Regions from separate parts of the Homo sapiens genome. Here regions 2, 3, 4, 5 and 6 are each linked to region 1. The links are contacts of gene promoters, found by promoter capture Hi-C in human tissues and cell types (Jung and others, 2019). All regions are on one chromosome and are shown on one strand. Each heading gives the region's core, a stretch centred on a gene start or on the middle of the fragment in contact. The rest is flanking DNA. Distances are from core to core; before and after follow the strand shown.

Region 1 (3,925 bases), core at 973-3,472:
CCTCCTGCTGCAGGTGCCTGACAGGGAAATGCCCGCTGGGGACCCTGTGGGAGGTGGTGGGGGAATGAGTGAGGGAGGGAGGGAGTGAATGAGTGAAGGAGGGAATGAGTGAGTGAGGGAGGGAATTAATGCATGAGTGAGGGAGGGAATGAATGAATGAGGGAGGAAGGGAATGAGTGAGGGAGGGAATGAATGAGTGAGGGAGGGAATGAGTGAGGGAGGGAATGAATGAGGGAGGGAATGAATGAATGAGGGAGAGAGGGAGGGAATGAGGGAGGGAGGCAATGAGTGAGGGATGGAATAAATGAGTAAGGGAGGGAATGAGTGAGGGAGGGAGGGAATGAATGAATGAGGGAGGGAGTGAATGAATGAGTGAGGGAGGAAGTGAATGAGGGAGGAAGGGAATGAGTGAGGGATGGAATGAATAAGGGAGAGAATCAGTGAGGGAGGGAGGGAATGAATGAGTGAGGGAGGGAATGAGTGAGGGAGGCAGGGAATGAATGAGGGAGGGTGGGAATGAATGAGGGAGGGAATGAATGAATGAGGGAGGGAATGAATGAATGAGGGAGGGAGGGAATGAGGGAGGGAGGGAATGAATGAATGAGGGAGGGAATGAACGAATGAGGGAGGGAATGAATGAGGGAGGAATGAGTAAGTGAGGGAGGGAATGAGTTTGTGAGAGTGGGAATGAGTGAGGGAGGGAGGGAATGAATGAATGAGAGAGGAAATGAGTGAGGGAGGGAATGAGTGAGGGAAGGAATGAATGAGTGATGGAGGGAATGAATGAATCAGTGAGGGAGGGAATCAGTGAGGGAGGGAATGAGTGAGTGAGGGAGGGAGGGAATGAATGAGAGAGGGAATGAGTGAGGGAGGGAAGGAATGAATGAGGGTGGGAATGAATGAATGAGGGCGGGAATGAATGAATGAGGGCGGGAATGAGTGAGAGTGAGAATGAGTGAGTGAGGGAGGGAATGAATGAGTGAGGGAGGGAATGAGTGAGGGAGGGAATGAGTGAGTGAGGGAGGGAATGAGTGAGGGAGGGAATGAGTGAGTGAGGGAGGGAATGAGTGAGTGGGAATGAATGAGTAAGTGAGGGAGGGAATGAGTGAGTGAGGGTGGCAATGAATGAGTAAGTGAGGGAGGGAATGCGTGAGAGAGGGAAGGAATGATTGAGTGATGGAGGGATCGAATGAATGAGGGAGGGAGGGAATTAGTGAGGGAGGGAGGGAATTAGTGAGTGAGGGAGGGAATGACGGAGTAGGGGAGGGAATGAATGAATGAGTGAGGGAGGGAATGAATGAATGTGGTCACTCCCCGCGGTCCCCAAGCACCCGGACACCGTGACCTTGGCTGCGGCCCCGCCGTCGGCGAAATGCGGGCGGGGGGGCCGGGAGAGCCCGGGGGCCAGCACGGTCGCGCGTTGGCGAACGGACTGTCCCGCGCGCTCGCGGGTCTGGGGGCCTCCCGACCCGGTCCTGCTTGTTGCGTGGGCGGGAGGGGGGACCGGAAGCGCCCCTCCCCCACGGGCTCGCCCCGCCCCCGCCGCTCGCGGTCCCCCACGTCCCGCCCGCGCCCCGGCCCAGGGCCAGCCCCCGGTTTAGGGAGCATCCACACTTCTCCTCCCGTCGGTCATGCTCGCATTCGGCCTTTTGTACGGGGTCAGCTCATTGGGCGGATGAGAAGGTGTCCCCGCCTACCGCCCCGAACTGGCCAATTGCAAGGGGTTTCACAGGGCGCTGAACTCGCGGGAGCGTCACCGTCCTGCGACGCTTCAGAGGATCCTTAGGCCTCAGTGGTCTTTGACCCCCGGCCCCAGGACCTGACCCCAAGGAAACCTCCGGGACCTGTGGCTGGAGAGGTGACCGCCAGGCATCCGGGGAGCCTTTGGAGATCTCGGCTTCCTTTTTCCCCCGCTGCTTGCCGGCGTGTCCTCGGGTGGACGCGGGCAGCCCGAAGGGGAGTTTACAGACGCTCCCTCACATCGGGGACGCGGCTCCTTTAAGGGCGTAGGTGTCCAGGGCGCCGCCTGACTGGAAAGTCGCCCCCCGGCCGGGCTCCTGGGGCGGACCCGGGGCGCGGGCGCGCGGCGGCGGGGCGCGGGCAACGGGGAGCGCTCGGCGGCGCGGGAGGCGCTCGGGGCCGGGCGGCAGGAGCGGCGCGCGAGGCAGGCGTGCAGAGGGCAGCCCCGCGTTAGGCCCCGCCCCGCGCGCCCCGCCCGCGCCAGGGTCCTCGGAGCTGCTCTGGCTGCGCGCGGAGCGGGCTCCGGAGGGAAGTCCCGAGACAAAGGGAAGCGCCGCCGCCGCCGCCCCGCTCGGTCCTCCACCTGTCCGCTACGCTCGCCGGGGCTGCGGCCGCCCGAGGTGAGCGCGTGCGGGGGCCGGGCCGGGGCCGCGGGGCGGGGGTCGGGCCGAGGCCTCTACTCCTGTTGGGCCCGGGCCCCCGACTGCCCCGCGCCCCGCCCCGCCGAGCCGGGCCCCGCGCCGCGGCCGAGCTTTCCGGGGAGCCCGAGAGGCCCCGCGCTCGGCGCCGGCTCGGTCCGCGCTGCTGGCGCCGCTGGGCTGCGGCCCGAGCGGCCGGGCCGCCGCAGGCCTTCGGGGCCGGGGCTCCCCCACTTCGCCCCCGAGGTGCGCCTGGCGCGGGGCCGGGGCAGCCACCTGCAGCCGGGGCCCCGCGAGGCCGCGCCTTCCTCCTGCGCGGGGAGCGGCTTCCGGGGTCACGGTCGCCCCGCGGACGGATAGGATGGGCCGCGGGGGGAGAGTCTTGGATTGCAACATCGCTGGCTCGCGGGGGTGGGGGCCGGCGAGCGGGCTTGTTTTCGGTGCCTTAAAACCAAAACAAGTGTAAGTTTTCTTGTGCCTCTGAAGATGCTCCGCTGGCGCTTGCTGGGGCCCTGAACGTGAGCGCCTCGCTGGAGGGGGAGTTTTATTCTGTTTTGGACATCTCTTTTTATCGGTTGAATAGTAGTTGGTTCTGGTAGTTAACGTGCGTAGGAGGAATGTAAGGGAATGATTAGTTGGGCTTGTGATCGTGGCCTGTAGTCACGCTTGAATCGCAGAATGAAGTGGTTTTGTTTGTATAATTGGAAGTTACGCTTAGTTTCTCTGTTTGCAAAGTGCCTGTCTTTGGGGAGTTCGGTTTGTTTCCTTTTACAGGACCTACCCCAAGTGTTTCTTGCTCTTCAAGAAACGTTGCCTTTGGGTAGAGAACCTATGCAACGGAAGACGGGACGGATCCTCAGTTTGCCCTGATTGCTCATTCAGAGAGGTCCGTTCCCTAGGCCACTGGGTGATTGCTGGTGTGCGCTTGTATGGTGTCTCAGGGTTTGGGATCTTGCTTCAGAAACATTCTCGGGGCCTGGGGCAGATCAGGTGCGGCCAGGTAAGCGTCTCCCGACTGCAGGTGCTTGGGTCTTGCAGAAGGGAATACCTCCCCAAGCCTGGGAGAGTTTGCATTTGGGTGCAGGAGGGCCTTTAAAGGCTTCTTGTGCCAGCCTGTCGTGGCGACCACCCGTTGTGGAGATCAGTGCGGTGGAGTTGTGGGAGGTGAGTGCTTTGCTCACCCTCAGCCAGGAAGTTGCTCTGAAGTCGGTGCTGTCAACCAGCAGAGCAAGGCGGTGATCCGAGAAGCTAAAGCTCAGCCGGTTGCGGGCGCCCAGCAGGAGGACAGAAGGCAGACTTTCGGGCCGCTCCTGGAGTGCCCGGCCCTGTCCCCGTTTCTGCAGTGTCTGGGCCTTGCCTGGCTCTAATAGATGAGGGTTGTTTTTGTCTTTGCATCATAAAAGTTTCTTGCTCTGAAGCGTTTAGTAACTACTAGCCGTTCACTAAGTGCCTATCTGTGAATTTGGAAGGGCAAATTCGATTTTCAGCGGAATTTTGAACGCTTGATCTGTGTTGTGATTACATTGTAACAGATTGGCCGCTTTCTC
Region 2 (3,584 bases), core at 447-2,946, 520 kb after region 1:
CAATATGGTGAAACCCTGTCTCTACTAAAAAATACAAAAATTAGCTGGGCGTGGTGGCGAGCGCCTGTAGTCCCAGCTACTCAGGAGGCTGAGGCAGGAGACTCGCTTGAGCCCGGGAGGCAGAGGTTGCAGTGAGCCGAGATTGGCCACTGCACTGCCCAGGCGAAGAAAATGTCATTTACAACTGGTGCTCAGCCTCCCCTGGAGACCATCACAGCCTCCTGAAGAAGCTGACAACCCAGGGAGGTGCCTTTATTTCTGAGGAAAGACGCAGCTGGTGCCAACACCAGCAGAAACCGTATTCCCTTTCCATATCACTCAGCCCAGCACTGCCTGGCAAATGTTCCCGGCTTGCTGTTTTGTAACTGTAATACTTTGTACAAACAGGTCAAGGACCTGCAGCCTGGGGCCTGGACCAAGTCCAGAAACATGTTCGGTTTGGCCCCAAAAACAAAAAAAAATTGAGATATGGTCTCACTCTGTCCCCTAGGCTACAGTGCAGTGGTGCGATCAAGGGTCACTGCAGCCTCGACCTCCTGGACTCAAGCGATCCTCCCACCTCAGCCTCCAAAGTGACTGAGACTACAGTTGTGTGCCACCACGCCCGGCTGATTTTGTTTAGTTTTTGTAGCGATGAGGTCTCAACATGTTGCCAGGCTGGTCTGGAACTCCTGGACTCAAGCGATCCTCCCGCCTCGGCCTCCCAAAGTGCTGGGATGACAGGCGTGCGTCACTGCACTTCTTTTTTAAATCAGGAAGTTTCACAGCATCTTGCTTCCCTTGAACTGGGCGGCACCAAATACGGGGGCTGGGGCCTCCCTTAGAATGGGGTACGCACGCCCTGCCGATGCACACAGTCCCGCTGGAACTCTCTGCCTGGACCCTTATGAATGTCCCTAAAACTGTAATTCTGAGGACCTCAAAATCCATGTCCTTTCCTTAGCAATGGCGACATTCTACCCCCTGCAGAGCCTTGACAGCTTTCGGCGAGATCTGGAAACCGCCAGGGACGCCTCCCTGTCTGCGCCTCCGCCCGCCCAGTGCCCTGCGCTGCGCACCCGCCCGGGGCGCTGGCCTGGCCCGGCCGCGCGACCACCTCGGGCGAATGACACGCCGGGTCCCCAGACGGGGGCTCCGGCGCCGGGCGGGCAGCTCCACCACCGCAGGCGGCGCCGCGAGACCGCGGTCCTTGCAGCGGGGCAGCAGGTGCGGGGTGGGCCAGGCGTCCCGGGGCCCTGCCCGCTGCGCCTCAGAGCCGCGCCCCAGGCTCTCCTCGGCGCCGGCCCGGGCAGGACGCGATGCCCTGGAGGCGTCAGGGGCGCGGCCGGCCCAGCCCGAGCGTGGAGGCCGCGGCGGACGCAGGCCTGGCCCTGCTTACCTAGCGCTTTCCGCACCCGCGGCCCCGCGCCCGCTCCGCGCCAGCCTCAGCGCCTGCGCCGCCTCCGCTCGAGCCCGGCAGCGCGGCCTTAGGCACCTGCGCAACAGACACCGCGTCAGCGGTCGCCAAACGACGGCCCGGCGCCGCCCGCTGCCCGCCCCGCCAGGCCCGCGTCCCCCGGCCCGCACCGCCCCGCCGCACCCACCGAGGCCTCGGCGGGCGCAGGCGGCTCCCAGCGCGGCGAGGCTGCGGCGGCCGAGCAGCCCTCGGCCCACCACCATGACCCGGGCCGGGCTGGACTGCCGAGCTGCCCAGGACTGCAAAACACCGGCGTCGGCGCGTCGCAGCCAATCAGCGCCCGCCTCGCGCTGCCCTCAGCCAATCAGCGTCCACCTCGCACCGTCCGCCAACCAATCAACGCGCTCGCGCTCAACTTGTTTTGTCCGCGAGCCCCGACTGCCACGGGCCGGGAGACGGGCCTGGGAGCGGCGGCGGCGGCCCGAGAGCTGCGCCGGGAGAGCTGTGCCGCGAGCCTCCGCCTCTTTTTTGGCACCGCACAGTGGATCCCTGGAGGCCGAGCGCCACGCCGCCCGGGTACCCGGCAGATCGCGAGGTGGAACGGGCCGTCGCTGCGGGGGACAGCGTTCCGAGGCAGTTGGTCCTCTCCGGGATGCCGTAGGCATCAGCTGACCGGCCCAGCCCACGTGACTACAGGGGCACTTGATGGGAATCATGGCAGCATCCAGGCCATTGTCCCGCTTCTGGGAGTGGGGAAAGAACATCGTCTGCGTGGGGAGGAACTACGCGGACCACGTCAGGGAGATGCGCAGCGCGGTGTTGAGCGAGCCCGTGCTGTTCCTGAAGCCGTCCACGGCCTACGCGCCCGAGGGCTCGCCCATCCTCATGCCCGCGTACACTCGCAACCTGCACCACGAGCTGGAGCTGGGCGTGGTGATGGGCAAGCGCTGCCGCGCAGTCCCCGAGGCTGCGGCCATGGACTACGTGGGCGGCTATGCCCTGTGCCTGGATATGACCGCCCGGGACGTGCAGGACGAGTGCAAGAAGAAGGGGCTGCCCTGGACTCTGGCGAAGAGCTTCACGGCGTCCTGCCCGGTCAGCGCGTTCGTGCCCAAGGAGAAGATCCCTGACCCTCACAAGCTGAAGCTCTGGCTCAAGGTCAACGGCGAACTCAGACAGGAGGGTGAGACATCCTCCATGATTTTTTCCATCCCCTACATCATCAGCTATGTTTCTAAGATCATAACCTTGGAAGAAGGAGATATTATCTTGACTGGGACGCCAAAGGGAGTTGGACCGGTTAAAGAAAACGATGAGATCGAGGCTGGCATACACGGGCTGGTCAGTATGACATTTAAAGTGGAAAAGCCAGAATATTGAGTTATTTCTTAACAAGTTTCGAGAGAGAAGGGAGCAAGACAAGAGCAAGCAACGGCTATTAAATGTCACAATCCTTTAATTAGAAACCATTTATTGGCCGGACGCGGTGGCTCACGCCTGTAATCGCAGCACTTTGGGAGGCCGAGGCGGGCGGCTCACGACGTCAGGAGATCCAGACCATCTTGGCTAACAGGGTGAAACCCCGTCTCTACTAAAAATACAAAAAATTAGCCGGGCGTGGTGGCGGGCGCCTGTAGTCCCAGCTACTCTGGAGGCTGAGGCAGGAGAATCAATTGAACCCGGGAGGCGGAGCTTACAGTGAGCTGAGATTGCGCCACTGTACTCCTGGGCAACAGCGAGACTCCGTCTCAAAAAAAAAAAAAAAAAAAGAAACCATTTATTTTAAAAATGATTAGATTGCTATGCCTCAACTCATAGAAGATGAACCCTTCAAGAAAACGTGAAGTAGAACGGGTGGGCCAGAAATGAAAACAGGCAAGTAAAGTATTTCTTCGGAAAACATTTTATCAAACCAAATGTTAAAAAGACTTTCCTTTTGTAAAACTGGATTAGAGAAGACTTTTCAGTGGGTTATCTCTAGGATGATCAGTAGTTCAGCACTTAAAAACTGCAGAGAAAACTGAAAGTTATGTTCCAGATAACTTTCCGTTGTTTACCAAATTTTCTTAGATTTGGTCATCATCAGGAAGCATTTGTAAAAATAAAAATCTCCACAAATTACTGGCCCATCTCGGACTTGCTGAATCAATTTGATAGGATTAATCTCCAGTGAAGCTGTGTTTACAGG
Region 3 (3,904 bases), core at 164-2,663, 680 kb before region 1:
CCCAACAGCAGCAGGACTCCAGAGGGCCAGGTCCTCCAGTCAGTCGGCCCGCTCAGCAGAGCCGCCTGCACGCTGGCCAATCTGGTGTCTGCTATGCCCGGCCCAGGGGGGTGTGGACGCCCCGGAGGTCACAGCTGAGCTGGAACGGGGCACTCCAGTTGGTACAGGGACCAGACCACAGCCTCTGGCTCAGGTGCCTCCCTGTGCTGTTTCGTGGGCATGTCCGGGCCTTAAGCCCCTCCCTGGCAGCTCCAGCCCAGCCGCCTGCTGCTGGGTCTGGCCTAGCTACCCCCACCCCCACGCTATCAGGGCCCACCCCCAGTCTCCTTGTAGAGCAGGGACTGGCGCCTGGAGCCGTCTCCGGGTCTCATTCTGACCAGACCAGGCTCCTGTTACCCTGCCTCCTGGGTCAGAGGTCAGACACAGGGTCAGGGGGACACTCCCATCCGGTCTCAAGAGAACCACTCCCTGAGGCCCCAGACATCTGGAGCCACAGAGGGTTTGGAAGGGTAGATTCCAGGCAGCCTTTTGTCCTGCTGCACCAGGCAGGCCAGCCCCCTGCCCTCCCCAACGAAGAGGAGCCAGCCTGGGGATGTGTGCCCCGCCGACGGGGGGCTGGGGCAGGGCAAGGCTCTGGTGCCCTGGGACACTTGCTCTTTTCAGCTGCAGACGCCCTTGCACTTGGCCTTCCCTCGGGCGGTGCCATCCCACGCGGAGCCACGTCCAGGGCTACACGGTGCGTGGGCCGAGGCTCCGGCATCAGCGTTTCGGGCTGTTCTTATGCTTGTGGTGGCCACAGGCCTCTTCCTGCTGCACCTGCCCCGCCTTGGGGACAGGCCTGAGCCCCAAGCCCGCTGCCTGGTTTCAGGGATGGGGTCTCTGGGAATGCAGTCCTGCCGGGTTGGGCCCCACTCCAACAGGGGCAGCAGAGCAGAGGAGGCCGGGCTGTGCTGGGCGTCCTGCAGACCCCTGTGCCCCTGAAACAGCCATGGAGGGGGGAAGGAACCTCGGAGCGGAGTGAAGCCCTCGGCCGCACGTGACCGTTGCCAGCCTGGACCTGGCCCGGGGGACCCAGGCTGTGGTCAGCCACGCTCTGCGGGGAGGGCCCGTGCCTGCCACCCCCATGGCATAGGAGCCTGGGGTCCAGAGGGCGCCAGGGACAAAAGCTGGGATCTGCTGGCCCTGCCCCCACCCTACTGAGGGTCGTCAAGGAGATTGATCTCAGCCCAGGGGTGGACGAAGGGGTTCAGGTTACAGGGTCCCCTCCCCTCCCCCTCTCCAGCCAGAGCCAGCCCTTCCCCGCCCCGGTGACCCTCATGGCCAGTGGCTCTGTGCTCATGGGCCTCTGGCCCCTCCCCAACCTCCTCCCCTCTGCCCTGTGCTGACCAGGGCCTGGGAGCCCCCGCACGGTTCAGACAGAGGGGCCAGGCTGAAGCTGGAGAGGAACCAGCGTCACACAGACGGCCTCTGAGAACTTGGAGACCCCGTTACCCACCCAGCAGGGGTGTCAGGACAAGCATCTGCTGCAGGCTTCAGCCTCAGGGGCAAAAGGGAGCCCCGGGGTCCTGGTGGGGGCACCGACCACAGGCCCGGAGGGTGGATGCCTGCAGGAAGCTGGGCTCTGTGGAGCCCGAGGAGGGGCTGGTGGCCACACCCCCCGGCCCCCTGGCTCGGCGGCCCTCATGCCCGCCCTACGTCCACTCCTGCCGCTCCTGCTCCTCCTCCGGCTGACCTCGGGGGCTGGCTTGCTGCCAGGGCTGGGGAGCCACCCGGGCGTGTGCCCCAACCAGCTCAGCCCCAACCTGTGGGTGGACGCCCAGAGCACCTGTGAGCGCGAGTGTAGCAGGGACCAGGTGAGTGTGGTCGGGCCGGGGTCCTGGGGCTCAGAGCAGCCAGCCTGGGCAAGACCCTGCTGGAGGTGCCACCTTCTGCCTGGGCTCCCCAGACTTCTGGGGGGTCTGGGTCTGGGCCCCTTAAGGGGCCCAGAGACACCCCCATCGTTGCCCTCATTTGTCTTAAGAATAAGAGCCCTCCCCACTCCAGCTTTCATGCTCCCCATGTGCCTCCACCCTGGGGCACCATCATCCTCGGCGACCACCCCCACCCCGTCACTGCCTCTCCTCCCACCCTCTCCTCCCACCCTCTCCTCCCATCCACTTCTCCCACCCCTTCACTGCCTCTCCTTCCATCCTCTCCTCCCACCCTCTCCTCCCATCCACTCCTCCCATCCACTTCTTCCATCCTCTTCTCCCACCCCGTCACTGCCTCTCCTTCCATCCTCTCCTATCCACTCCTCCCATCCACTTCTTCCATCCTCTTCTCCCACCCCATCACTGCCTCTCCTTCCATCCTCTCCTATCCACTCCTCCCATCCACTTTTTCCATCCTCTTCTCTCACCCCGTCATTGCCTCTCCTTCCATCCTCTCCTCCCATCCACTTCTCCCACCCCTTCACTGCCTCTCCTCCCACCCTCTCCTCCCATCCACTCCTCCCATCCACTCCTCCCATCCACTTCTTCCATCCTCTTCTCCCACCCCGTCACTGCCTCTCCTTCCATCCTCTCCTCCCACCCTCTCCTTCCATCCTCTCCTCCCACCCTCTCCTTCCATCCACTGTCCTCCCTGTCCTCCCACCCTCCTTCCATCCGGGACCAGTGCAGATGGTGGTGGGGGTGCTGCAGCCGATGTCCAGCCTTTGTCCTGGCCCGCACCACCTGCTGGGTGGTCCTGAGCACTGTACGCCCTCCTTGGGCCTCAGTTTCCTCGTCTGTACAACGTAAAGAATAACGGAACTTGCTTGTGGGTGTGAGGATTCTGGAAGGTAAGCCAGGTGGCACCTCTGGCGAGGTGGCTCCTCACACAGGATGGAAAGGACACTGAGTCCCCGGGGAGGCAGCCACAGAGCGGGGGGCTCCCTGCTACCCCACCTGGGCCTCCCCTTGCAGGGGCCAGGCCAGAGCCCCGGGGCGGGGGGCATTGGGGCTCCCACCTAAGTGTCCCCCATCCCCAGGACTGTGCGGCTGCTGAGAAGTGCTGCATCAACGTGTGTGGACTGCACAGCTGCGTGGCAGCACGCTTCCCCGGCAGCCCAGCTGCGCCGACGACAGCGGCCTCCTGCGAGGGCTTTGTGTGCCCACAGCAGGGCTCGGACTGCGACATCTGGGACGGGCAGCCCGTGTGCCGCTGCCGCGACCGCTGTGAGAAGGAGCCCAGCTTCACCTGCGCCTCGGACGGCCTCACCTACTACAACCGCTGCTATATGGACGCCGAGGCCTGCCTGCGGGGCCTGCACCTCCACATCGTGCCCTGCAAGCACGTGCTCAGCTGGCCGCCCAGCAGCCCGGGGCCGCCGGAGACCACTGCCCGCCCCACACCTGGGGCCGCGCCCGTGCCTCCTGCCCTGTACAGCAGCCCCTCCCCACAGGCGGTGCAGGTTGGGGGTACGGCCAGCCTCCACTGCGACGTCAGCGGCCGCCCGCCGCCTGCTGTGACCTGGGAGAAGCAGAGTCACCAGCGAGAGAACCTGATCATGCGCCCTGATCAGATGTATGGCAACGTGGTGGTCACCAGCATCGGGCAGCTGGTGCTCTACAACGCGCGGCCCGAAGACGCCGGCCTGTACACCTGCACCGCGCGCAACGCTGCTGGGCTGCTGCGGGCTGACTTCCCACTCTCTGTGGTCCAGCGAGAGCCGGCCAGGGACGCAGCCCCCAGCATCCCAGCCCCGGCCGAGTGCCTGCCGGATGTGCAGGCCTGCACGGGCCCCACTTCCCCACACCTTGTCCTCTGGCACTACGACCCGCAGCGGGGCGGCTGCATGACCTTCCCGGCCCGTGGCTGTGATGGGGCGGCCCGCGGCTTTGAGACCTACGAGGCATGCCAGCAGGCCTGTGCCCGCGGCCCC
Region 4 (3,725 bases), core at 613-3,112, 620 kb after region 1:
TAAAAATACAAAAATTAGCGGGGCGTAGTAGCACACCTGTAGTCCTAGCTATTCGGGAGGTTGACCTGGGAGGATCGCTTGAGTCCAGGAATTCAAGGCTGCAGTGATCCATGGTCATGCCACTGCACTCCAGCCCAGGCAACAGAGAAACCCCCTTCTCAAGAAGAAACAACCAGGCCCGGCGCGGTAGCTCATGCCTGTAATCCCAGCACTTTGGGAGGCCCTGCTGGGCGGATCATGAGGTCAGGAGATCGAGACCATCCTGGCTAACACAGTGAAACCCCGGCTCTACCAAAAATACAAAAAAATTAGCCGGGCGCAGTGGTGGGCGCCTGTAGTCCCAGCTACTCGGGAGGCTGAGGCACGAGAATGGCGTGAACCCGGGAGGCGGAGCTTGCAGTGAGCCGAGATCGCGCCACTGCACTCCAGCCTGGGCGGCAGTGCCAGACTCCGTCTCAAAAAAAAAAAAAAAAAGAAACAACCCCAAACTGTAATTATGATAAACAACACCGATCTCATTTATGGAGTAGGAAATCAAGCTGGAGAGGTGGGGTCAGCCTAGGTCAGAGCAGGCAAGGACTGTGGGAACCTCTGAGGGAGGGACCTGGTCTGGTTATTATTTTGCAGAGAGGACTCTGGTTGGGGGAAGGCAGCCAGGAGCTGCCTGGGTTGTAGCGGGGAGAGGTGGGCGGAGGAAAGAGGCCTGGGATGTGGAACCCTAGGATCTAGCCCTGAGGGCGGGCCAGGTCCGGGCAGCCTGGGTCCCACGCAGCTGCCCTGAAGAAGGGGCTGGGGGCGTCCTGCCTCCACCCGCGCCCCCAACCACGCCTGCCGTTCCCACCGGCCGCGCCACCCCCGCCCCCGCCCCTGGCTCTGTCCTCCGGTGACCCTGGAAGGGGCACCCGTGGCTGCGACTGCACTCCCTGTAGCGGTCACTTCGTGAAGCCCGGCAAACCCCCTGCAGCTGCCCCTGGCACCCTCAGACGACCAGAGGCCTCGGCCTGGGTCCCCAGCACCGGCCCAAGGGCGGGCGTGGCCGAGGCGGTTTCTCTGCGCGGACGCTCGCTGCCTCCGCCGCAACCCCCGCGGCCACCCGGGGAACTGCAGCGCCGTCAGGCCCCCCGCCGCGCCTGCGCACGCAGACCACCCGGCCTGGCAGCACCGAGCGAGCGTGCCCCCTGCTGGTCAGTCCTGCGCACGGTCCCGCGCCCGGGCCCGGGAGGCCGCCTCGAGGGCCGGGGCTTGCACGTGGCCTCGGCGCCTTCGCCGACCCTACCGGACGCCCCCTCCTCCCACCTGCCGACCCGTCCGCGGGTAGGAGCCTCCCGGGAGCTGCCCACGGCCCCCACCCCCACCAGGGGCCACAGCCCCACCAGGGCCAGGCTCTGCGCGGCACCTGCCACTGAGAGAGCGGAAAGCGGTGGTTGAGCAAGGGTCTGAAGTATGGTCTGTTCCCCCATACGGGCCGCAGACGCTTCCTGGTGGCTGCTCTGAGCCAGGCCTGGGCCCCGGCGAGGGATCACGGTGTCTCAGACAGAGTTCCTTTTTATTCCCCATCCCTCGCCCGAGGTGACGGCCCAGCCGTGCCCAGGCCTGCCCGCTGCCCCTGAACCCAACCCTTGAGGGGCAAGGCCGTGCCCTGGGGAGGAAGGGGCTGCCCCCTCAGAGTCTGCTGTTCCTCAAGGAAGACGCGGGGGCAGCCGCAAGGATGGGGTATCACCCAGCAGGAGCGGGAGGGTAAGGTGACTGATTCCACACCAGACGCTCCATTGCTGGAAACACCACCCCCTCCTCCGGTGACCTGGCATACAGACCTTGCCCACAGCCATCCCTCCCTGGACTCTCAATGTGAGGGGGCCTTGGGGTCCTGCGGTTCACCCGTCTCCCCACTCAAGCAGTCTGCTTGCCGGCACCCCCCCCACCTCCTGAGCCCACTTGCCCCCTCCCACCCCCACCTCCCTACCACATCTTTTTTTTTTTTTTTTTCCTGAGACGGAGATTTGCTCTTGTTGCCCAGGCTGGAGTACAATGGTGTCATCTCGGCTCACCACAACCTCCCTGAGCCTCAGCCTCCCAGGCTGAGCCTGAGCCTCCCAGGTTCAAGCGATTCTCCTGCCTCAGCCTCCCGAGTAGCTGGTGTAGGGAAAAGAAAGAGAGATCAGACTGTTACTGTGTCTATGTAGAAAGGGAAGACATAAGAGACTCCATTTGAAAAAGACCTGTACTTTAAATAATTGCTTTGCTGAGATGTTGTTAATTTGTAGCTTTGCCCCAGCCACTTTGACCCAACCACTTTGATCCAATCTGGAGCTCACAAAAACATGTGCTGTATGAAATCAAGGTTTAAGGGATGTAGGGCTGTGCAGGACGTGCCTTGTTAACAAAATGCTTACAAGCAGTATACTTGGTAAAAGTCATTGCCATTCTCCAGTCTCAATAAACCAGGGGCACAATGCACTGTGGAAAGCTGCAGGGACCTCTGCCCTTGAAAGCAGGGTATTGTCCAAGGTTTCTCCCCATGTGATAGTCTGAAATATGGCCTCGTGGTATGAGAAAGACCTGACCGTCCCCGAGCCCGACACCTGTAAAGGGTCTGTGCTGAGGTGGATTAGTCAAAGAGGAAAGCCTCTTGTAGTTGAGATAGAGGAAGGCCACTGTCTCCTGCCTGCCCCTGGGAACTGAATGTCTCGGTATAAAACCCAATTGTACATTTGTTCAGTTCTGAGATAGGAGAAAAACCACCCTATGGTGGGAGGTGAGACATGTTTGCAGTAATGCTGCCTTGTTATTCTTTACTCTGCTGAGATGTTTGGGTGGAGAGAAACATAAATCTGGCCTACGTGCACATCCAGGCATAGTACCTTCCCTTGAACTTAATTATGATATAGATTCTTTTGTTCACATGTTTTTTGCTGACCTTCTCCTTATGATCATCCTGCTCTCCTACTACATTCCTTTTTACTGAAATAACGAAAATAATAATCAATAAAAACTGAGGGAACTCAGAGACCGGTGCCAGTGCAGGTCCTTAGTATGCTGAGCGCCGGTCCCCTGGGCCCACTGTTGTTTCTCTATACTTTGTCTCTGTGTCTTATTTCTTTTCTCAGTCTCTCGTCCCACCCGACTGGAAATACCCACAGGTGTGGAGGGGCAGTCCTCCCCTTCAGCTGGGATTACAGGCATGGGTCACCACGCCCGGGTAATCCGGGTAATTCTGTATTTTAGTAGAGATGGGGTTTCTCCATGTTGGTCAGGCTGGTCTAGAACTCATAACCTCAGGTGATCCACCTGCCTCGGCCTCCCAAAGTGCTGGGATTACAGGCGTGAGCCACTGTGTCCGGCCCACCACCTTAACATGGATGTTTGGATGAGCCTGGGGCCCTGGGATGCAGGCAGGAGGCACTACTCCCCAGCCCCCACCAGGATCACCACCCCTGCACTGCTGTGGCTGAGATCCCCAGGCGCCAGCAGGCCTCCAGCCACCCAGCTACCGGCCTGAGCCTGGTAGACAGCCCTGGGGACAAAACCCTGCACACAGGGGCCCAGTTTGCAGGCGAAGGCCAGTCTGCTCTTGGGCCTGAGTCCACTCTCGGGGAAACACTGGCCCCAGGTGCAGAGCTGGGAGTGCTGGGAGAAGGCAGCACAGCCCAGGCCCCTGCCTGGCCCTGTGCCTGGGAAGCCTGCTGCCCATTCAGCAGCTCCCTCCCTGCCGCAGCAGAGCCGCC
Region 5 (2,528 bases), core at 1-2,500, 640 kb before region 1:
AGCCTCACGCTGGCTGCTCACAGGTGGTGGAGAAGATACCACTGCCCTTTTTTGCCATGTCCCTGAGCCTGTCCCCCGGGACCCACCTCCTGGCTGTTGGCTTTGCTGGTGAGTGCTGGTGGATGCAGTTTGGGCCTGTCTTAGGTGGGGGCCAAGTGGGCTGACTGGTGCCCTGTTCCAAGACAGGTGCCTCACCTGTGCCCCGGGCTCCTCGTCTCTGGGGTGGGGTGAGGACATCTGCCCTAGAGAGGGTCCTGGAGTCAGGAGATGATGAGGCAGGTGAGGAACCAGGCACAGCGCCCAGCACAGGGCCTGAATGCACGGGTGGCAGCGACTTTTAAGGAGGGAACTGGCCCAGCTGCAGGCCGACAGCCTGGCAGTGATGGACCCCCTAGTCCCAGTGGCACGTGGAGGGCACAGCCAGGAGCCCTTTTAGCACCAGCTCCCCCGACCAGCATCATGCCCAGTGGGGACAGTCTGGGTGGGTTGGGGGAGCCCTCTGAGTGCTGCCTGGTCCTGGCCCTGGCCCACCTGCACCGTCTACCCACAGAGTGCATGCTGAGGCTGGTAGACTGTGCCATGGGGACTGCCCAAGACTTTGCCGGCCACGACAACGCAGTGCACCTGTGCAGGTTTACACCGTCCGCCAGGCTGCTCTTCACGGCCGCCCGCAACGAGATCCTTGTGTGGGAGGTCCCCGGCCTCTGAGATGCAGCAGGGACTGTGGTGGTGGGCATCACGCCTGGTCATGCCAGGCACCTGGACACAGGCTTGGCAGAGGCGCCAGGTTGTCAATGGCCTCATGCTGGGACAGGCCAGGATTCACGTAAATCGCCTGGAGCAAGCTGTTGTAAATTTGGCGCCCTGTGAATACTTTCATACCTGTTGCCCTTTTGCCTAAGAAATCTTTAATGTTTCTATCTTGTAATAAACATGGGCATTTATTGCATTATTGCTGCATTGTTGCACTGGCTGTCTCTGGTCACTCCTGGCCTGAGCTCAGCCTCTGCCCGTCCCTTAATCGGCTGTTTGTCAAGGCCCCTGTGGTGCCGTGAAGCAATGGCCGCTCGGCCTGCCAGGGCGCCAGGACCCTGCGCTGTCCGCCGTGGCCGGCGCGTCCACACGGTGGCGCGCCGCACAGCCTGTCCGCTCTGGCCCGCCCGGCTCGCTGGTGCGGCTGTGCGGGCGGGGCCGGAAGTGTGGGGACAGCGCGGGGCCGAGAACCGGAAGTGCGGGGCGGGCGCGGGGGCAGAGCGAAAGGCTTGAGGACCAGGTCGGGGCCGGGTTCCGGGTCGGGGAGCGGCTCCGGGCGGCAGCTATGAGGCGGGACGTGCGCATCCTGTTACTGGGCGAGGGTAGGCGCCGGCCCGGGGGTCTCGGAGCTGCGGCGGCCGTGAGGCGGGGTGAGGGTCTCGGGGGTCGGGGGGCGCCGTGACCTTGGCCCTCGCGCTGACCGCCTCGCCCCGCGCAGCCCAGGTGGGGAAGACGTCGCTGATCCTGTCCCTGGTGGGCGAGGAGTTCCCCGAGGAGGTAAGGGGCACGCCCGCCGCGGGGGTGGGAGCGGGCCCAGCCGGGGGTCCCTGGTGAGCGCGCGGGTCCCTTGCAGGTCCCTCCCCGCGCGGAGGAGATCACCATCCCCGCGGACGTCACCCCGGAGAAGGTGCCCACCCACATCGTGGACTACTCAGGTAGCGGCCGTAGCCTCCCGGGGGCCCGGCCCGCAGCGGTCCGGCGGGCCTGCTGGGTCCGCAGTGGAGTCTCTTTGTCCCCCTAGAAGCCGAGCAGACGGACGAGGAGCTGCGGGAGGAGATCCACAAGGTACCCGTGGTGCGCGGGACGAGGGAGGGGCTGGGCGCGGGCTCGGCCTAATCCGCTTCGCAGCCTGGGGGATTGGACCGAGGTGCTCCGGGTGTCCTTGGCCCTGATAATTCTGTGACCTCCGCACTGAGGGTTGTCGGGGCCCCTACAGCGCACCCCGCTGGGAGCCGGCACCGCTCAGTCCAGTGGTGCTCCAGGGATAACAGGACCCTTCCCCGCGGGCTCTCCCTCCCTCCTGCCGGGGTGGCAGCAGCGTTTGCTCTTCCTGTGGGCTCTGTGTGCGCCACGTCCCCGTGCTGTGTGCTCCAGCCCACCGTCCCGGCCTCCGGGCACCCGGAGCTCCCAGTACCAGAGCACGTGTGCCGGGGACATCTCCAGGCAAGGGCACAGGCCACAGCCACCCAGGGCAGCCCCTGCTGTTGGCACCCCTCACTGCGGTCCTGTCACTCTGTCTGTAGCGAGGGGGGAGGCAGGGGCCAAGGCGGCGGCTGTCTTGCAGGGTGTTGGGTTGCAGGTGTGGCCGTGTCTGTCCTGAGCCCTCTGCTCCAAGGGTCTTGCTGACCACAGTTATGCTTCTGGGGCCTGGTGTCCCTGCACTGGCAGTGGGCGGGGAAGAGGCTTCTCTGAGGGTTCAGCAGCAGCTCCCAGTGTGACACTGGGGAGTGCCTGCTCTGCCAACACCAGGCTGGAGGCAGGTTTTAGGGAAGGCT
Region 6 (4,024 bases), core at 3-2,502, 540 kb after region 1:
GCCCGACCACCTTGTGGCTCTCTAGGTCCTCCTGACTCTGTTCCACCTGTTCTCCTTAAATATTTCATAATTCACGGACATATTATCTTCATTATTTATTCTCTGTCTCTCCCTGCTGGAGGGTAAACTCCATGAGGGTGGAAATATTTATCCATTTTGTCGTTGCACCCCAGAACAGCACCCAGCATACAGCACATGCTCAGTAAATTAGTTCAGTGAAGAGCAATTCGGGGCATGCACATCTCCTCCCATGGTGCTGCCTTCAAGGAGACAACATCCATGTGTTGGATGTGCAAGATTCAGAGTACTCATATAAAAACCAGAGTCTCAGTATTTTACACCATTCCTCATAGTAATTCTATCTTTTAAAAATGCTGATAATGGTTTGGTCAAAAGCACACATTGCTTTATAATTCTGTCACTGCTGATGCTTTGTTACAGACCAGCAGCGTGAGCGTATGTTTTAAATGATACACTACATACTGTACTCATAGCTTCATGAGATGGCAAAGGATTGATTACTCCATTTCTTTAGCAGTACTGGCTTGACGGTTATGTCTGCACTATAAAGCACCCTGGGAATGCTCACAGGCACTAATCCCTCATCTCCCCAATCTGGCTTCCTTGATTTCATGCTGTAATAAACTGTAACTCCTTCAACAACCACTCCAGGGGATCATCTGGGCATTTAATGTGCAGTTATGAGCTAATGATACTACACAGAGAGTACTGTGTGCACGCATGCATGTGTTATCAATGTCCTAGCAGTAAAAGTTATTTGAATGTAGCAAAACTGAATTTACCTATTAGTCAATAATTTAGCATCCAAGCAATAAAATCGATCTCTCAAAAATTATCACAATGAATTATACTTTAAAATTAATCTGGTTTTTCACTTTTTTTTTTTTTTTTTTTTTTTTTTTGAGACGGAGTCTCGCTCTGTCGCCAGGCTGGAGCGCAGTGGTGCAATCTCGGCTCACTGCAACCTCCACCTCCTGGGTTGAAGTGATTCTCCTGCCTTAGCTTCCCGAGTAGCTGGTACTACAGGCGCACACTTTTACGCTCGGCTAATTTTTCTATTTTTAGTAGAAACAGGGTTTCACCATGTTGGCCAGGATGGTCTCAATCTCTTGACCTCGTGAGCAGCCCACCTTGGCCTCCCAAAGTGCTGGAATTACAGGTGTGAGCCACCGCGCCAGCCTTGTTTTTTTTTTAAGACGGGGTCTTGCTCTTGTGGCCTAGGCTGGAGTACAATGGCGCGATTTCAGCTCACTGCAATTTCTGCCTCCTGGGTTCAAGTGATTCTCCTGCCTCAGTCTCCCGAGTAGCTGGGATTACAGGCGCCCACCACCAAGCCCAGCTAATTTTTATATTTTTAGTAGAGACTGGGTTTCACCATGTTGGCCAGTCTGGTCTTGAACTCCTGACCTCAGGTGATCCACCTGCCTTGGCCTCCCAAAGTGCTGGGATTACAGGCATGAGCCACCACGTCCGACCTCACATTTCTTTAGTAAAGATATCAAAGTTCATTGTAAGTTTTTAAAAAAGTTATATAAAGCAATTTTTACTTCTAATTTGAATTAAATCCAGGCTGAATTTTCATTCTTAAATATACTGTATAAATATTGAAATGTGTTCAGTCATTTCCAAAGGGATAAAAGGTTTCACAAAGTTTTTTACCTGGATTAGTTGTAATAATGGTTTTTGAGATTACAGTTGCTGTCATGCAGTTCCGAAATTTGTCAAAATTTATTCTTACATCTGAGGCAAATATTACTGTTTGGGAAAAAAGCCATTTAAAATTATTACATGGGAGGATATAAATGACAAATATTGGACACAATCATTGAATGATAATACCTGTTTCTCGTGGCATCCAGCTCTGTGCAAGTAGAATGGATTCATTATCCCAACTGCATTTGTTTAAAAAGAAGTAATACAAATTGAATACACTAGAAAAAACTGATAGTGACATATTATTTACAACAATAAAAGAAAGCTTCAGTGGCTGGGGTCAGCCATCCCCAAGGTGGTCAAAGACCTCCTAGTCTTAAGCATGCCAGCTTCCTCCTAGGGAGAATTTAACAACTCCATGAGAGAACATTCCTTCAACACACACTCTCCTCTAGTAATACTCTGCTCTGCCAATTCTTAATTTATTTTTCCAACACTTAATCACTCCAGGCTAGTTAGAACTAAAGCCTGAAGACTTTAAACTCACACTTTCAGACCATGAAGGTGAGTGTCCCCCAGTGGATAAACTGCTCAGGGGCCTTGATGGGTTGAAGACATTTTTGAAATCAGTTCCTTTGGTACCCAGGCATCAGAGGTCTAGACAATGCCTTGTTGTACCTGGCAGTGCTTCAGGGTGCAGTCCCCACCCTGGCCCACGTGCCCCTGTGTCCTGCCCTGCTCCAGGATACTTCCCAGGAAGCACAGAGGGAAACTCTGGCTTGTTCCATGGGACCTAATAAAACATCATTTGTTACACGACAGAATTCAATAATAAAACTGGGCACGGTGGAGTCCCCCTAAGCAATTCCATGCCATCTAAAGACCTCATTTTAAGGTGGTATCCATAACAACTCAACATTCAAGAGTGAGATTTATTTTTTAAAATATCATTCATCTCCTATCATTATCCTCTCTTGATATGAAGTCCATCATATTTTTGATAAAATGAAAATGTCCTGGTGATAACTACAGGGATTTCACAGTTTGGAACAGACATCGGTGTTTACCATGTCATCGCAAAAGACGACTCTGTTTCATCATAGAGTCTAACTTCACACCTCTGGCCTTTTCTCCGGTCTGAAGTTGTAAAGTATTTTGGCTCTCCAACCTTAGAAATGGAAATAAATCATTACTCTTCACCTATATGTAGAAGTTCTTAAGTATTTGTTGATGAAAATACTCAAATGTTCACCTTTTAAACACCAAATTAGAAATATTAAACTAGCAAGAACCAGTAATATATAGTTGATTATTTTAAAGCATCTATCTCTAAACTACATGTACGTAGCTGAAGTTGTAAGTCACACAACACTTTGAAGAGACACAGGGAGACAGGTGCTTGAAGTAGAGACTGAAAGTCTTTTTAACATGTCACAACAAAGCTCCATGACAGGCCCCTCTGGGGCATCTACGTGGACTCCTCGAGGGCAGGGACTGTGTTTCCAGCACCTTTGTATCCCCATGGCTCAGCGTGGAACTCATGTGACTGAATGAACTCAGGCTCTCTGGGGCTCAGCACCTCCGTCTTCTTAGTGAACATCAAATACAGCATATCTGTGGTATAAAAAGTGTCCACAGGAAACAAACAAATATAGGATATGTCCTTTGCCTTCTCCACAGGGCTACCATGGTGAGAGCCACATGCGAGATACACAGGAAACTTTGACACTGTCCAATTCTGTCCATTGTGGGGTAAGATGATCAAAGAAGTGGAAATCCTCTTGCCCATTAAAGCAAGTTAAAAAAAAAAAAAAAGAAGAGTTGAAACTAGGACCCTTCTCTCCACCCAGTGGCTTCTCATGTGGGAACGGCAGGCACCTCTGAGAGATGCACAGCAGCAGGCCCAGCATGGACAGTCACTGGCCACCCCCACCTCTGCCACCACTGCATCTGTGGTGCCCAGAGAAAGGGACCTAGAAAGGACAGCCAGAGGCTGAGAGGTCAGCCTAACATCTGGGGTTGGGAAGGTGGAGAACACTGTATTAAAAAGGAGTTTTAAAGTGAAACGCCAGTGGGGGTGAGAGGAAGAAACAACAGGTTAAATGAAAGTGTGAAGAGTGGCCGGGAGGGGTGGCTCACGCCTGTAATCCCAGCACTTTGGGAGGCCGAGGTGGGTGAATCACGAGGTCAGGAGTTCAAGACTAGCCTGGCCAATATGGTGAAACCTTGTCTCTACTAAAAATACAAAAATTAGCTGGGCATGGTGGTACACGCCTGTAGTCCTGGCTACTCGGGAGGCTGAGGCAGGAGAATTGCTTGAACCCGGGAGGTGGAGGTTGCAGTGAGCCAA

The links. Contacts are between HindIII fragments. The study calls those that stand out against the background at their distance.
Region 2: a contact is called between the fragment with the promoter of HAGH here and the fragment with the promoter of UBE2I in region 1, in 2 of the 25 tissues and cell types used here (IMR-90 fibroblasts and dorsolateral prefrontal cortex).
Region 3: a contact is called between the fragment with the promoter of WFIKKN1 here and the fragment with the promoter of UBE2I in region 1, in 1 of the 25 tissues and cell types used here (dorsolateral prefrontal cortex).
Region 4: a contact is called between a fragment that was not itself captured here and the fragment with the promoter of UBE2I in region 1, in 1 of the 25 tissues and cell types used here (dorsolateral prefrontal cortex).
Region 5: a contact is called between the fragment with the promoter of RHOT2 here and the fragment with the promoter of UBE2I in region 1, in 4 of the 25 tissues and cell types used here (dorsolateral prefrontal cortex, lymphoblastoid cells, mesenchymal stem cells and 1 more).
Region 6: a contact is called between a fragment that was not itself captured here and the fragment with the promoter of UBE2I in region 1, in 4 of the 25 tissues and cell types used here (H1 embryonic stem cells, IMR-90 fibroblasts, aorta and 1 more).

The regions. Positions count from the first base shown.
Region 1 is chr16:1,307,414-1,311,338 of GRCh38, forward strand. It overlaps UBE2I (ubiquitin conjugating enzyme E2 I), which reads left to right and starts at 2,223. Exons shown (of 7, transcript NM_003345.5): 1 at 2,223-2,360. RefSeq lists silencers at 1,292-1,581, 2,072-2,371, 2,572-2,761 and enhancers at 1,792-2,031, 2,733-3,344. The HindIII fragment of the contact is 23,762 bases long and covers 1-3,925 here.
Region 2 is chr16:1,825,129-1,828,712 of GRCh38, forward strand. It overlaps HAGH (hydroxyacylglutathione hydrolase), which reads right to left and starts at 1,697. Exons shown (of 9, transcript NM_005326.6): 1 at 1,584-1,697. The coding sequence starts at 1,659. It overlaps FAHD1 (fumarylacetoacetate hydrolase domain containing 1), which reads left to right and starts at 2,078. Exons shown (of 1, transcript NM_031208.4): 1 at 2,078-3,584. The coding sequence starts at 2,111. The coding sequence ends at 2,776. RefSeq lists a silencer at 1,048-2,017 and an enhancer at 2,108-2,297. The HindIII fragment of the contact is 9,774 bases long and covers 1-3,584 here.
Region 3 is chr16:629,572-633,475 of GRCh38, forward strand. It overlaps WFIKKN1 (WAP, follistatin/kazal, immunoglobulin, kunitz and netrin domain containing 1), which reads left to right and starts at 1,414. Exons shown (of 2, transcript NM_053284.3): 1 at 1,414-1,853; 2 at 3,011-3,904. The coding sequence starts at 1,683. RefSeq lists enhancers at 39-772, 298-592, 773-1,507. The HindIII fragment of the contact is 11,828 bases long and covers 1-3,904 here.
Region 4 is chr16:1,928,692-1,932,416 of GRCh38, forward strand. No RefSeq gene overlaps it. Among named protein-coding and RNA genes, the nearest start is that of HS3ST6, 12 kb to the left of the region's middle. The HindIII fragment of the contact is 5,872 bases long and covers 1-3,725 here.
Region 5 is chr16:666,882-669,409 of GRCh38, forward strand. RHOT2 (ras homolog family member T2) reads left to right here and starts at 1,251. Exons shown (of 19, transcript NM_138769.3): 1 at 1,251-1,355; 2 at 1,472-1,530; 3 at 1,607-1,688; 4 at 1,775-1,818. The coding sequence starts at 1,319. WDR90 (WD repeat domain 90) reads left to right here. Exons shown (of 41, transcript NM_145294.5): 40 at 24-108; 41 at 551-949. The coding sequence ends at 708. RefSeq lists an enhancer at 962-1,643 and silencers at 1,029-1,368, 1,429-1,528, 1,629-1,718. The HindIII fragment of the contact is 52,780 bases long and covers 1-2,528 here.
Region 6 is chr16:1,851,359-1,855,382 of GRCh38, forward strand. MEIOB (meiosis specific with OB-fold) reads right to left here. Exons shown (of 14, transcript NM_001163560.3): 7 at 2,742-2,842; 8 at 1,861-1,913; 9 at 1,681-1,776. Among named protein-coding and RNA genes, the nearest start is that of MEIOB, 19 kb to the right of the region's middle. The HindIII fragment of the contact is 5,559 bases long and covers 1-4,024 here.